4 separate regions of the Homo sapiens genome follow, and all the other regions are linked to region 4. The links are contacts of gene promoters, found by promoter capture Hi-C in human tissues and cell types (Jung and others, 2019). All regions are on one chromosome and are shown on one strand. Each heading gives the region's core, a stretch centred on a gene start or on the middle of the fragment in contact. The rest is flanking DNA. Distances are from core to core; before and after follow the strand shown.

The links. Contacts are between HindIII fragments. The study calls those that stand out against the background at their distance.
Region 1: a fragment that was not itself captured here is called in contact with the fragment with the promoter of MIXL1 in region 4 in 2 of the 25 tissues and cell types used here (mesendoderm cells and thymus).
Region 2: a fragment that was not itself captured here is called in contact with the fragment with the promoter of MIXL1 in region 4 in 1 of the 25 tissues and cell types used here (liver).
Region 3: a fragment that was not itself captured here is called in contact with the fragment with the promoter of MIXL1 in region 4 in 4 of the 25 tissues and cell types used here (H1 embryonic stem cells, lymphoblastoid cells, pancreas and 1 more).

What each region holds. Positions count from the first base shown.
Region 1 is chr1:226,357,050-226,360,348 of GRCh38, forward strand. No RefSeq gene overlaps it. Among named protein-coding and RNA genes, the nearest start is that of PARP1, 49 kb to the right of the region's middle. The HindIII fragment of the contact is 5,424 bases long and covers 1-3,299 here.
Region 2 is chr1:226,069,938-226,073,150 of GRCh38, forward strand. It overlaps H3-3A (H3.3 histone A), which reads left to right. Exons shown (of 4, transcript NM_002107.7): 4 at 1,414-2,082. The coding sequence ends at 1,542. Among named protein-coding and RNA genes, the nearest start is that of H3-3A, 8.8 kb to the left of the region's middle. The HindIII fragment of the contact is 4,533 bases long and covers 1-3,213 here.
Region 3 is chr1:226,402,360-226,405,902 of GRCh38, forward strand. PARP1 (poly(ADP-ribose) polymerase 1) reads right to left here. Exons shown (of 23, transcript NM_001618.4): 2 at 1-20. Among named protein-coding and RNA genes, the nearest start is that of PARP1, 4.0 kb to the right of the region's middle. RefSeq lists enhancers at 569-1,470, 1,111-1,255 and a cis regulatory region at 1,183. The HindIII fragment of the contact is 5,776 bases long and covers 1-3,543 here.
Region 4 is chr1:226,221,346-226,224,937 of GRCh38, forward strand. MIXL1 (Mix paired-like homeobox) reads left to right here and starts at 2,319. Exons shown (of 2, transcript NM_031944.3): 1 at 2,319-2,729. The coding sequence starts at 2,337. It overlaps LOC124904528 (a long non-coding RNA gene), which reads left to right and starts at 794. Exons shown (of 2, transcript XR_007066907.1): 1 at 794-879; 2 at 994-1,153. RefSeq lists an enhancer at 2,638-2,697 and a silencer at 2,743-3,037. The HindIII fragment of the contact is 15,954 bases long and covers 1-3,592 here.

The sequences.
Region 1 (3,299 bases), core at 340-2,839, 130 kb after region 4:
TATGCATAGCCATTGTAACTCACCATCAGAAACCCTACACTCAGGCTAGACTTGTTCTGTGGCTTAAAACTGCAGCGTCTCAGCCGGGTGGAGTGGCTCATACCTATAATCCCAGCACTTTGAGAGGCCGAGGCAGGTGGATCACTTGAGGCCAGGAGTTTGAGGCCAGCCTGGCCAACATGGTGAAACCCCATCTCTACTAAAAACACAAAAATTAGCAGGGCGTGGTGGTGTGTGCCTGTAATCCCAGCTACTAGGGAGGCTGTGGCGGGAGAATCCCCTGAACCCGGGAGGCAGAAGTTGTAGGGAGGTGGAGGTTGCAGTGAGCTGAGATGGCGCCACTGCACTCCAATTTGGCCTGGGCAACAGAGTGAGACTCTGTTTCAAAAAACCCCAAAACACAACAACAAAACCCCCTAAAACCTGCAATGTCTCTGCCCCTCTAACTGGCTGCTTTGGTCTTTTTTTCTGTAATTGGTCATGAAGCCATAGTGGACATCTGTGACATTCCTTCTAGCACCCATTCCTTACTTCCTTTGCCCTCAGCCAGAACCTGTTGACTAGAGTGACCCAAGCCTTCGTTCCTGAAGGGTCTGAATTTTCCACAGTGCTGTCATTTTTTGGAGTTGCAGTGTTTTTGGTTGCTGTACTTCCCCTTGCCTTTACCACTGGACATGGTGGCACTAAAGCCCTCCCGAGAATCTCCTGGGCTCTAGACATAGTCCTGCTTGCCTCCCTGTGCAGCATCCCACTTTCCCCTTGGTAATCAGGATCAGTCCCTTCTGCCAGCAAGGTCACCCCCTCCTCTGCACATTGCTGCAGTGGTACAAGGAGCCCCAAACAGCCATATGGTAGCCTCATCTTCTAAGTCGATGAAACCATAATTGTGTTGTCCGCTAGAAGCATCTCTCCCTTAGGGACTAAGACCTCCAAACACAAGCCCTGTGAGGGGATATCAGATGTGGTGACAGCAAGAGGAACTACTCCCACCTCACCCACTGGTTCCCAGACCCATGTGCTTTGGCCGGGGGGGAGACACCAGGTTGGTCTCTGATTTCAAGCCTCTACTGCATCCGTAAGATGAAACCCCATCCCTTCAGGACGCTGTCTCACAACTGGCACCATCATGAGCCATTCTACTCTTCATTTAGGTCATTTCTGGGTGATGGGGCATGTGGCAAAACCAGTTAATTCTAAGTACAAGCCTGATGCTGAACTCTGTGCTGTAGAATGAGGTCGCTGATCAGAAGCAAAGCTATACAGAATGCCACAGTGGTGGGTGGCATTGAGTGCTCTGAGTCCACATGGCCCATAGGACGCACACCAGCTGTCCCTATTACCAGCACTGTTCCCTAGTCCAGTGGGCAACATTTTTCACATAAGGGCTAATTCGCTGAGGAGGAAGGTGTTTACAGGCCACATTTTCTTTACTTTTGAAGTCTCCAAAATATATCTTATAACCTAGATGACCTGCTCTAGAGAACAGTAAAGAGAAATGAGAAAACCAACATTGACCTCTTAAGCCATACAAATGGGCATATTTGGCACATGCCAAAGGGAAGCTGCCATCTAACCTTCCATGCTGAGGCTGAATGGCAGAAGTGAGGGGGCAGTGGGATGCTAAGCACTGTATCAGACCTCCCTAAACCTCAATGGCCTCAACTTAGACTCAATTTGGCAGGCCCTGCCTGATGAAATGGTGGAAACACTATGCCTCAAAAAAGCAACCACCAATCTCTGAGGAGTCAAAACAGAATTTAAGGGAAAGGCAATGACACCACTTTGAGAAATGCGAACTCCTAAAGCACCTGGGTGTACTTTATAGAGCGGAATAAAACCAGCCCAACAGGTCAGAGGTGAATGATTCCCAATGTTCAGATCTTAACAGTTAAGATACAAGGTTTCTGAAGGCCAAAAGACAATGCAGCTTCCAGGCTTTTGGTGTAAACAATTAACACTGAGTACATACTATGCCCGCACCAGGGACAAGGCCACCATTAGATTTCATTCCTAAAAGCAGTACTTGAGGTTTGCCCTAAGGCAAAGTTCTAGGCAAATCATTCTATAGCAGCTTCGCCTTAGAGCTCTGGGACGCTTGAAGGAATGGTTCTTCACCTCTTGTGTAGCAAGAGATAACCACTGATGCAGAATTCATTGGCTAGCACATTGGCTAAAACACTACTGTGTACGCAGCGCATCTTTTATAGATGTATGCATGCACCACTGTGTGCAACAGTGTGCTCTGACATGTGAGCCCAGTACTGCCTTGGGCAACTACTGTTGGCCAAGGGCACTTCCAGGCACAAAGGCGGGAGGAGGGCAGCTCACCAGGAGGGGCAGAGGGCTATACCTCTCTCTTCTCTCATGGAGCACCCCGAGTTTCTATGCAAGGTTGGCTTTAATTTTTTTTTTTTTTTTTGAGACGGAGTCTCGCTGTGTTGCCCAGGCTGGAGTGCAGTGGCGCGATCTCGGCTCACTGCAGGCTCCAACCCCAGGTTCACGGTTGGCTTTAATTTTTAAACGAAATTCTCACATTTTAGTTGCTACCCTGAGATAGGACTTGAATTTTTTTTTTGAGACCGGAGTCTTGCTCTGTTGCCACACATGATCTCAGCTCACTGCAACCTCTGACTCCCGGGTTCAAGCGACTCTCCTGCCTCAGCCTCCTGAGTAGCTGGGATTCCAGGTGAGCGCCACCATGTCTAGCTAATTTTTGTATTTTTAGTAGAGATGAAATTTTACCAGTTGGCGAAGATGGTCTCCATCTCCTGACCTCGTGAACCGCCCGCCTTGGCCTCCCAAAATGTTGGGATTACAGGTGTTAGCCACTGCATCCGGCCAGGACTTGAATTTTTTTAAAGTGAAGGGAGAAAAGCAGAATGTGTATACTAAAACATAAAGTGCTAATTTCTCTCTTTTGAAAGGAAAATAGATTGAGAAATGTGAATCTTCCTTAAAAAAAGAAACCAGTTTTGATTACAGGGAACTCACTAAGTAATCACTCCAACCTAAAAATACTTATTTCATCAGGTACTGTGAGGGTAATTGCCTTTCTCTGTGCTGATTAAAAAAAAAGGTAAAGAGTGCAGAATACTCAGGAGCCCAAGAGCCGAACAGCCTGGATTGCTGGATGATCAGGAGAGAGGGTCTCCAGGTCAAAGGTGCTGGTCTTGAACTCCTGGCCTCAAATGATCCTCCCACCTCGGCCTCCCAAAGCACTGGGATTACAGGTGTGAGCTACTACCTCACTTGTCCCCTTCCGTAAAAGGTCAGAGGTGACATAAGACACTGGCCCTGCT
Region 2 (3,213 bases), core at 353-2,852, 150 kb before region 4:
TTCTAAGTGGAAACGCCCCTTTTTCCTCTTCACAAGTTAAGTGTCAATGAGTGATTCATACACTGTCATTTTTAAGTGGTAGTAGGAATAAGATAACTTGAAAGGATCTTACAGTCAAATGGGAAAAACCAGAGAAATCGATACTAGTACTAGAGGGCAACAAATGCTGTTACAAATTGGGGTACGTAGAGGAAGGTACTTGGTAGAGGACAGGGGCATGTTTCCGGGGCATAGATCAAAGTATATAAATAAGGAACTGCCAGGCCAGTTGCGGTGGCTCACTCCTGTAATCCCAGCACTTTGGGAGGCCGAGGCAGGAGGATCACGAGGTCAGGAGATCGAGACCATCCTAGCTAACACAATGAAGCCCCATCTCTACTGAAAATTAGTCAGGCGTGGTGGTGGGCGCCTGTAGCCCGAGCTACTCGGGAGGCTGAGGCAGGAGAATGACATGAACCTGGGAGGTGGAGCTTGCAGTGAGCTGAGATCTTGCCACTGCACTCCAGCCTGGGCAACAAAGAGAGACTCCGTCTCAAAATAAATAAATAAGGAACTGCCGGGCGCGGTGGCTCACGCCTATAATCCCAGCACTTTGGGAGGCCAAGGTGGGTGGATCACGAGGTCAGGAGTTCGAGACCAGCCTGACCAACATGGTGAAACCCCTTCTCTACTAAAAATACAAAAAAGTAGCCAGGCATGGTGGCGCATACCTGTAGTCCCAGCTACTCGGGAGGCTGAGGCAGGAGAATCGCTTGAATCCGGGAGGTGGAGGTTGCAGTGAGCCGAGATCGCGCTACTGCACTCCAGCCTGGGCGACAGAGTAAGACTCCATCTCAGAAAGAAAGAAAGAAATACGGAACTAACTTGTGATATGTTCTGGAATCAAAAGTACTCTTATGATAAAACAGGTATGAAAGGGAACATAGATGAGAAGCATGTGATAAAAACCACTTGTTCACCATGTTATACTACTGGACAAGGCAGAGGTTCACATACTGTGTGAATGGGATTCAGAGTGAGGAGGAGACTAGGCTGGGATGGGGTATTTGGATTGGACATGATTGCGTTTATAAGAATGAGAGTGTTAAATTGGATTTCTTGCTTTATTTGTGACATTTCAGTTTATTAGAAATCATGTTACCATTAGAAAAATTGAAGTTTCCTAGTAACAAAGTAATTTGATTTGTGTAACTTGATAAAAGATTTACTGACTTAAGCTTTTGTTTTTTTTCATAAGCTGCTTTTGAGCTTTGTCCCACAGGTTGTAAAATGTAAGCATTTGGTAAAATTGTCAGCATCTTGCCCAGTCATTTTTTTAAAGGGTTCAAAAACCTTTTTGTTTTAATTCGTATAGTTGGGTCTTAACTATTGGAAATAACATCATCAGTAATTTTTTCTTCATTCCTTTTGCAGGAGGCAAGTGAGGCCTATCTGGTTGGCCTTTTTGAAGACACCAACCTGTGTGCTATCCATGCCAAACGTGTAACAATTATGCCAAAAGACATCCAGCTAGCACGCCGCATACGTGGAGAACGTGCTTAAGAATCCACTATGATGGGAAACATTTCATTCTCAAAAAAAAAAAAAAAAATTTCTCTTCTTCCTGTTATTGGTAGTTCTGAACGTTAGATATTTTTTTTCCATGGGGTCAAAAGGTACCTAAGTATATGATTGCGAGTGGAAAAATAGGGGACAGAAATCAGGTATTGGCAGTTTTTCCATTTTCATTTGTGTGTGAATTTTTAATATAAATGCGGAGACGTAAAGCATTAATGCAAGTTAAAATGTTTCAGTGAACAAGTTTCAGCGGTTCAACTTTATAATAATTATAAATAAACCTGTTAAATTTTTCTGGACAATGCCAGCATTTGGATTTTTTTAAAACAAGTAAATTTCTTATTGATGGCAACTAAATGGTGTTTGTAGCATTTTTATCATACAGTAGATTCCATCCATTCACTATACTTTTCTAACTGAGTTGTCCTACATGCAAGTACATGTTTTTAATGTTGTCTGTCTTCTGTGCTGTTCCTGTAAGTTTGCTATTAAAATACATTAAACTATACCTGCTTTTGGTCTTTATTATAGCCTTGCCCTACAATTATATTCCAAATAATTTCAGTATTAAGTCCTTTAATAGTCACTTTATATCTGAGACGTGAGACTTATTGAGAGAGAAGGAAAGTATAGACTTGGTGGCAAAAGGAACTTGGCTTTATTTCTAATTTTTAGAAGCTTGCCACTACCCAGTGGTCTTAACTCTTTGGATGTGTTGTCTTCTGAACCAATAATTCGAAAAGCTAATCAACAGGATCACCTGGAAATAGTGGAATCTGTAAGTAGATTGAACTTTCATGAATGTTTAATAACAAATGAGAGTGTGTAACAGTCTTTAGCTCAAAAATTAATGCATTCAAGATCTGGCTATTTTAAGATGCTCTATTAGTTAACCCTGAATTTATTCAAGCACTAATAGTTAATTCTTAGCCCTGTTTTATTTAGTGTTGGTACAATTAATGTGAAATGAGGATAATTAAACCTTCTAAGACTTTTAACACATCCCATTAGTTGTAACGTTTGAGTGTTTGAAACTGCCCTAGAAGTGATACGAAATGTTAATAACTATGCCAAGAATAGACGCATGTCAGTAAGATACGACACTGGGCTTGCATTCTTACTGCTCTTAAACATTTAGCCATAACTTAATCTTTTGACTATAGGTGACTATAAAATTCTTTAATGGGAGAATTAATTACTTTAAGAGGCTGATTTTGTTAGCATGCATCCTAGTTTTCAGTATGATCTTTTGCATGTACTTCTACAGGGAAGTACGGGTAACACTTGGAACTTTCTCAATATAAGTTACTAAAAGCCAATTGTAGTTGAATGTTCTCTGTTCAATCCAGTTTTTCAGTGCAAAAGACCAAATGGCCTTTTCATGAAACACTTCAGAAGAAAAAGGTGTCTCCAGTAAGGGAGGAAGTTAATGTTACCTGCTGGAATCTGATAAAGACCAGTTATTTACAAGTAGACAATACAGTCCTTTGAGTTCTTGGAATCCTAAAATCTCGAAAAGTTTTAATGCTCTAAAAGTACATTTTTTATTGCCCCATGAAGTGGTTGTTAACAATTCTTTTTTTAAACATAATTTCAATGTTTAAACAAATATTTAGTACTATGTGCTCACTGTCCAGGTATAATACAGTAAGTTGT
Region 3 (3,543 bases), core at 229-2,728, 180 kb after region 4:
TTTCCATCAAACATGGGCGACTAGAAGGAAGAGAAACAGAGGGAAGTAAGTAAGCAGTTAACTTTTGACTTAGACCCACTAGACCTTGACCTTGACCTCGACCCCAGTCCCAGCCCCAGCAGTGGGATAGCACATGAAACTTTTGTTCTCCTATCTGTGAAAGGAGGACAGCCTCCGCTCTCACATGAAGAGCTGCAGCATCCTTCTCACGATCTTCCCCAAGGGTCAGAAGACTGTAGCCCACTGTTCTTGAGCTCATTCTCTTAGGACACCAAACACAGCCACGAGAAAGGTGGCCTTTTACCACTGAGCTCTGCCCCACGTCCCTTTTGACCACACACTGCTACATTTAGTGGTGAGCTGCCTCATGGCCTAGTGAAATGCACAGAAGACACTTGTGCAGAGTCACAATCCTGCAGCATCTGCTGGGAATGGCCAGACAACTGCTCCAGGCTTGCCTGGACTCAAAGGGCCTGTGTGCCCCAGAAAAGGGCTCTTTAAGTGCCTCTGCAGTTAAGAATAACAAGGAACAAGTCCCAGATAATGAGCAAAGCAGAGAAAGTGTGTCAGAAAAAAGTGTCAAGCTTGCAGCAGCCACACAGATGGGAGTGGAATGAATGGAGGTCTTTGAGGCAACTGTGACAGCGGATGGTTCGGGGCAGCATGCCTAGAGCTGGAGTCAGCTGCTCACTGGCCTTCTGGGGCGCAGTTTCCCAGGCGTAGGACCTGAGAAGTCTGGCCACAGGGAACACAGTTCCCCTCTCCAGGTGGTTTGCTTCCCACTAGGCCTTTCATTGTGACAGGGTCAGGTTCTGCTCCCAGGCCTCGAGCACTGTCTGGCTTTGTTTTTGAGACCGAGTCTTGCACTGAGTGCAGTGGTGCGATCTCAGCTCACTGCAACCTCTGTCTCCTGGGTTCAAGCGATTCTCCTGCCTCGGCCTCCTGAGTAGCTGGGACTACAGGCACGTGCCACCCATGCCTGGCTAATTTTTGTATTGTTAGTAGCAATGGGGCTTCACCATGTTGGCCAGGCTGGTCTCGAACTTCTGACCTCGTGACCCGCCCGCCTCGGCTTCCCGAAGTGCTGGGATTACAGGCATGAACCACTGCACCCAGTCCTGGCTTTACAGAGTGGACGGTGACAGCGATTGGGAAGAAGGGGAAGACACAGTATGTAGTGTGTGTCCCTGCTCCTTTCATAAGCCATCCTGTGTAATCCCACAATCTGCCTCTGGGTGGGAACCAGCCCTTTCATTCACAGATGGAGACAGTGGGGCTGGAAATCCTTGCCTGGGGGGTTGGGAGTCACAGAGGCAGCAAATGAATGATTTGACACTATGATTCCTCCCACCACACTCCACTGCCCGGCAGGAAGAGCTACTTAAAAATACACCAACTGTGATCTGACTAAAGTAAGGGAAGTCCCAAACATCTGCTTTTATAGAACATAAAGCTAAATGTCACACAGATGCAATAAGACTATTAAAACAGCATTAAAAGTAAATGTGCTGAATTTTTAGGATGGAGTTGCGGGGACAGGGAAAATACTCTGGAAAAGCAATGATAAGGTACCCCACTATCTCTCTCCACTGTGAGTGGCCTCTTTCTGGATGTGATGTATTAAAATGCACAGCTAAGACTATGGCAGCACAAGGACTCCTCAACATCAGCTTTCCCCTGGGTCTGGAATGCTCTCCAGCCCTGTTCAGAGCACTCCCTCAGATCTCCCAATGCTCCTTCCACAGCTCCCCTCACTAAGAACTATGCATTTGGTGATTATTTCATAAGGGCCTATCTTGCTATTCTCTAGCAACATGTCACAGAGGGCACGCAGTGTTTGCTTAGGGCTCCAAGTCAGATGGAACAAAAAAGGAAGGATGGGGAAATTCCTGCTGTAGAAGAGACAACAAATGGCATTTCTGAGAGCATACTCATGTTCCAACTCTCAAACGTTCCACCAGATCTCAATTAGGCTGCTGATACAGATCCCTAAGCATCTGGCTATCATGGAATATTTGCAATGGCCTCGACCTGGCTCTGCCTGCTTGTCTACCCCTTGTCTACCCTTCCTGTGCAATGTTCCAGTTACCCTTGTATAAAGAGCACAGGTAATGGCTATGGCACTTCTTCCTGGCTCTGCCAGGGGCCCCAGACCTGCTGCCCTTTGGTCTGGGTGCTGTCTCCCCCAACCACCGGCACAGTGCTGGACACCCTGGAGGTGCTGCCCAATGGTGCAATCACAGCACAAGCTTAGAGGACAAGAGCCTCAGCAGAAGCACCCCTGACCAAAGCAATGCTTTGCCCTAAACTCAGGACTGAGAATGATGTGGCAGAAAGGCACCAAACCAAGGTCACAAGACTATCGACTCCATTTGTTAGCTGCACAGCTGAGGCAAGGCACAGAATCTTTGGCTGTGCACCCAAGCAAAAACTGAGCACCTAACATACCAGGGTCCTCACCCAACCAGCAGCTGGTGAACTGGGTTCCCTTCTGTGCAGAACAGGCCATGCTACCTGTCCACCTAGGCCACAGAGAGAATGAACTGACCTCACTGCATGCCTCCGGGTGCTCAAACCCTCCCAGGACAGAGCAACTCAAAGGTCTACCGCCATCCTCCTCCCACCAAAATGCTGGAGGGCCCAGCTCATCCCTCCCAAGATGCCCCAGGCATGAGGGCTAAAGTGTCAGGTATCAGATACTCAGAGAACAATACTCCCATGTAAATGTAAAAGAAGGTATTTAAATTCAAGCAAGTGAAAAGGCTTCTTTCTTTTTGGCCTTCACCAGCTCAGTCTACCAGACCAACTTTAAATTCTGAATTAAAACTCTGAATCCACCCTTAATCACCATTACATAAAAATCACAGTTACTTTTAATAATAAAGAGTTTCTTTCACTATCAAGTATACCAAAGGAAAGCCCAGAATGTTGTTATTACTATTTTTTTTTTCAGACAGGGTCTGGGTCTGGGTCTGGGTCTGTCGCCCAGGCTGGAGTGCAGTGGCACTATCTCAGCTCACTGCAACCTCCACCTCCCAGGCTCAAGCAATCTTCCAGCTTCAGCCTCCGGAGTAGCTGGGACTTAACAGGCACGCACCACCACGACCCGCTAATCATTGCATTTTTTTGTAGAGACAGGTTTCACCATGTTGGCCAGGCTGGTCTCAAACTGCTGAGCTTAAGTAATCTGCCCACCCCAGCCTCCCAAAGTGCTGAGATTACAAGCATGCGCCACCAAGCCCGGCCCCAGAATGCTAAACTTGATCAGGTTCAGTTTCCTCCATCCGGCCTCCCCCACAGCTAAGCCTCCTCTAACTTCCTCCACAGCGGTGTTGTTCTAGCCTCAACACAGTCTGGACTTGGGTTTTGTTTGTCTTTCCACCAGAACACGGTACTCTGCCCACCTGTTAAGGCGCCTGGATGTCCCTTTCTCAGAATAACATTTAAAAATGCGTAATAAAAAGGCTCGCAAATGGCCAGTCACGGTGGCTCATGCCTGTAACCCTAGCACTTTGTGGGGCCGAGGTGCATGGATCGCTTGAG
Region 4 (3,592 bases), core at 1,069-3,568:
TCTAGAACTTGGATATAGTGAAAACCATTTATATGTTTATAAGTGTCTGTCAAAGAAGAGAAGTAGCAAATCATTTTAATTTCAAGTGCTTTTGTAGAAACTCAATATGACTTCTATCTTTCCAACCCTAGTCAATGAAAATCCCAAGTGAAATGGGAAATCCACTCGCATGGAGAAGTAATTTCTTTTTTCTTTTTCTTTTCTTTTTTTTTTTTTTGAGATGGAGTCTCAGTCAGTCACCCAGGCTGGAGTGCAGTGGCGCGATCTTGGCTCACTGCAACCTCTGCCTCCCGGGTTCAAGCAATTCTCCTGCCTCAGCCTCCTGAGTAGCTGGGATTACAGGCTTGTGCCACCACGCCCGGCTAATAATTGTTTATTTATTTATTTATTTATTTATTTATTTATTTATTTATTTTGAGACGAAGTCTCGCTCTGTCACCCAGGCTGGAGTGCAGTGGCATGATCTCAGCTCACTGCAAGCTCCACCTCCCAGGTTCACGCCATTCTCCTGCCTCAGCCTCCTGAGTAGCTGGGACTACAGGTGCCCACCACCATGCTCGGCTAATTTTTTTTTTTGTATTTTTAGTAGAGACGGGGTTTCACCGTGTTAGCCAGGATAGTCTCGATCTCCTGACCTGGTGATCCGCCCGCCTCAGCCTCCCAAAGTGCTGGGATTACAGGCATGAGCCACTGCACCTGGCCAATGGATGTTGGCTGTTTTGGAGATGCTGGGGAATTAACTTTTTTTTTTTTTTCTGAGTCAGAGTTTCACTCTTGTTGCCCAGGCTGGAGTGCAATGGCACAATCTTGGCTCACTGCAACCAAGAGAAGAGGGGGAAAGAAAGGAGAAGGGGTGGAAGGAAGATGGAAGAGCAGGAGGTAAGTATATCAGCTGCCCAGAAGGGCCTCAGGGGCTACACAGGACACAGTCCCTGCCAACCCCACCCCTTACCACAGCCAGGAGAGAATCAAGCCCAAAATTCTTCTCTGCAGCAGCTCCAAGAAAACTTTCCGCTTTGCCACCTGGAATGTCCACCCAGGATAAAAAGATCCAAGCTCTTCTGAGACTGTCTTTTGACCTTCTAGAATGCAGAGACAGGACGGGGATTGTGCCCTGAAAGATCCTCCCAATAAAGATCTCCCTTTGAGTCGACCACAGTGAGTGATCCCGGTGAAATCAGCGCTCAGGTGCTGGGGGCAAAAAGACCTGGGCCTCTGTGTTCCTCTCTTGAGTTCTTGCACTGTGGTGGGGCAGTTCCCATAGTGGACCATGGGTTTCTCTTTCAATAAGGAGAGCTCAGTGACATCCAATTCGACAGACATTCACTAAGGGGCCTAGCACCGCGCCTCACGCAGAATAGGTGTACAAAGCAGACACTCAATAAACTCAGAAAGGGAGAGGTGGGTTCCTGCTTGCTAAGACTTTATATCTAGCAGATAGAGAAACCATAACCATAGCACAAAGTAGAGAAAATGGGAGCTTTCAGAGCCCCAAGGGGCAGAGGAAAGAATGATGATTCAGGGCGCGTGGAAACTTCATGAGGTGGCTTTCATCTCCTCCCATCCAATAGACGGGTCTTAAGCATTGTTGAGTATCTCCAGAAAGGCCAAACTGCGCCGTATCCTCTGCTAATGGGGCACGTTGCCAACCCCGCCCTACCTAGGGTATCTTTATTGGTGGGCCCATGGACATTCCAGCCAGACCCCCCCACTCCCCCCACCCATTTAATCAGGAGGAATGTGCTGCCCCCTGGATCCTTTATCTTCACCCCCCTCCCCGCTTGGATTCAGGATGTGTTAGGGAGGCTTGCAGAAGACAGGGGCCGGGCTGTTTGACCAACCTGGTACAGGGTCTAGCACATAGCAGGGGTGGTAAATAAATAGCTTTGATGAGGACAGACGGGACTAGGGCAAGGCTCAAGGCCCAGGCCATGTAAGGCACAGGCCAGGCAAGGTGCTTCCGCCGCTCTTAACGGGGATTTGACCCGGAGAAGAGAGTTCTGTCGCCTGCGGCCCGCGCACCCGGGCCCCTCCGGGCTGCCCCTCCCAGGCAAATAGTCCTTCGGGGATGTGGATTGCGCCGTCCGGGCGGGTGGGCGGGGAAGAACACGGAGGGGGCCGGGACCCAAGTTCACGCCTCCCTCCTGCATCCCGCAGCCGGCGGAAGCGATTATTCCCCGGCGTCTGGCGGGGCCGGGGGCGGGCTCGCACCCGGAGGAGACACGGGTCTCCCCGAGCCCACCTTTGATCGCACCGCCCCGCCTTCCCAGCCCCTGGCCCGGGAGGGTATAAGTGCGGCCCGCGCCCCTCCGAGCGGCGCGCTGGGTTCCGGAGCGATGGCCACAGCCGAGTCCCGTGCGCTCCAGTTTGCCGAGGGCGCCGCGTTTCCAGCGTACCGGGCCCCCCACGCCGGCGGGGCGCTCCTGCCGCCCCCGAGCCCTGCGGCAGCCCTGCTCCCTGCGCCGCCCGCGGGCCCCGGCCCAGCGACCTTTGCGGGCTTCCTCGGCCGGGACCCCGGGCCGGCCCCGCCGCCCCCCGCCAGCCTGGGCTCGCCTGCGCCCCCCAAAGGCGCGGCCGCCCCGTCGGCGTCGCAGCGCCGCAAGCGCACGTCTTTCAGCGCCGAACAGCTGCAGCTGCTGGAGCTCGTCTTCCGCCGGACCCGGTACCCCGACATCCACTTGCGCGAGCGCCTGGCCGCGCTCACCCTGCTCCCCGAGTCCAGGATCCAGGTGAGGGCCCGCTGCGTTCGCAAGTGCGCGCTGGAGCGGAGGCGCTGCGGACTCTAGGTCTGGACTGCGGGCTCCTGAGGCCACACCCGGGACGTTGCAGGCACGGTGCTTCCCCTGAGGCTCTGCGTACTAGACTGAAATAGGGGGTGATATCGGCACCTGCTGCATAGGGTGGTTGCGAGGCCTGTGTGAAATAATTTAGGCCTGCACTGAACGATTTCTCTCATTATTAAATATAATAAGGGCTCCTAGGAGGCTAGCCGGTCCCCTGAAATGGCCAGAAAGTAATTCCCAGCAGGAAGATAAGAAGTTTTACACTTTTTCTTTATCCGGGAAGAAGACACAGATGAGGGGCAGTTGGGGTTTTCCTCTGGCTTTGAGCGTGAGAATGGTAGCTGAAAACGGGGAAGGCTGGCTCGCCAAGTTACCCCCATGCTACTTTCTTGGCAAGTGTTACGTTTTGGGATTAGATTTGAAAGGATGTAGCGAATTGAGATAAAGCGAGAAGCACCTGGAGCTTGTTTTCAGTTTGAAAAATCTAGTGCAAGGTGTGTTTATTTTTATTTATTTAGTTTTTATTTGAGATGGAGTTTTAACTCTTGTTGCCCAGGCTGGAGTGCAATGGCGCGATCTGGGCTCACTGCAACCTCCGCCTCCCAGGTTCAAGTGATTCTCCTGCCTCAGCCTCCCGAGTAGCTGAGATTACAGGCGCCAGCCACCACGCCCAGCTAATTTTTGTATTTTTAGTAGAGACGGGGTTTTACCATGTTGGTCAGGCTGGTTTCGAACTCCTGACCTCAGGTGATCCACCCGCCTCAAAGTGCTGGGATTACAGGCGTGAGCCACCGCGCCCGGCCGTGTTT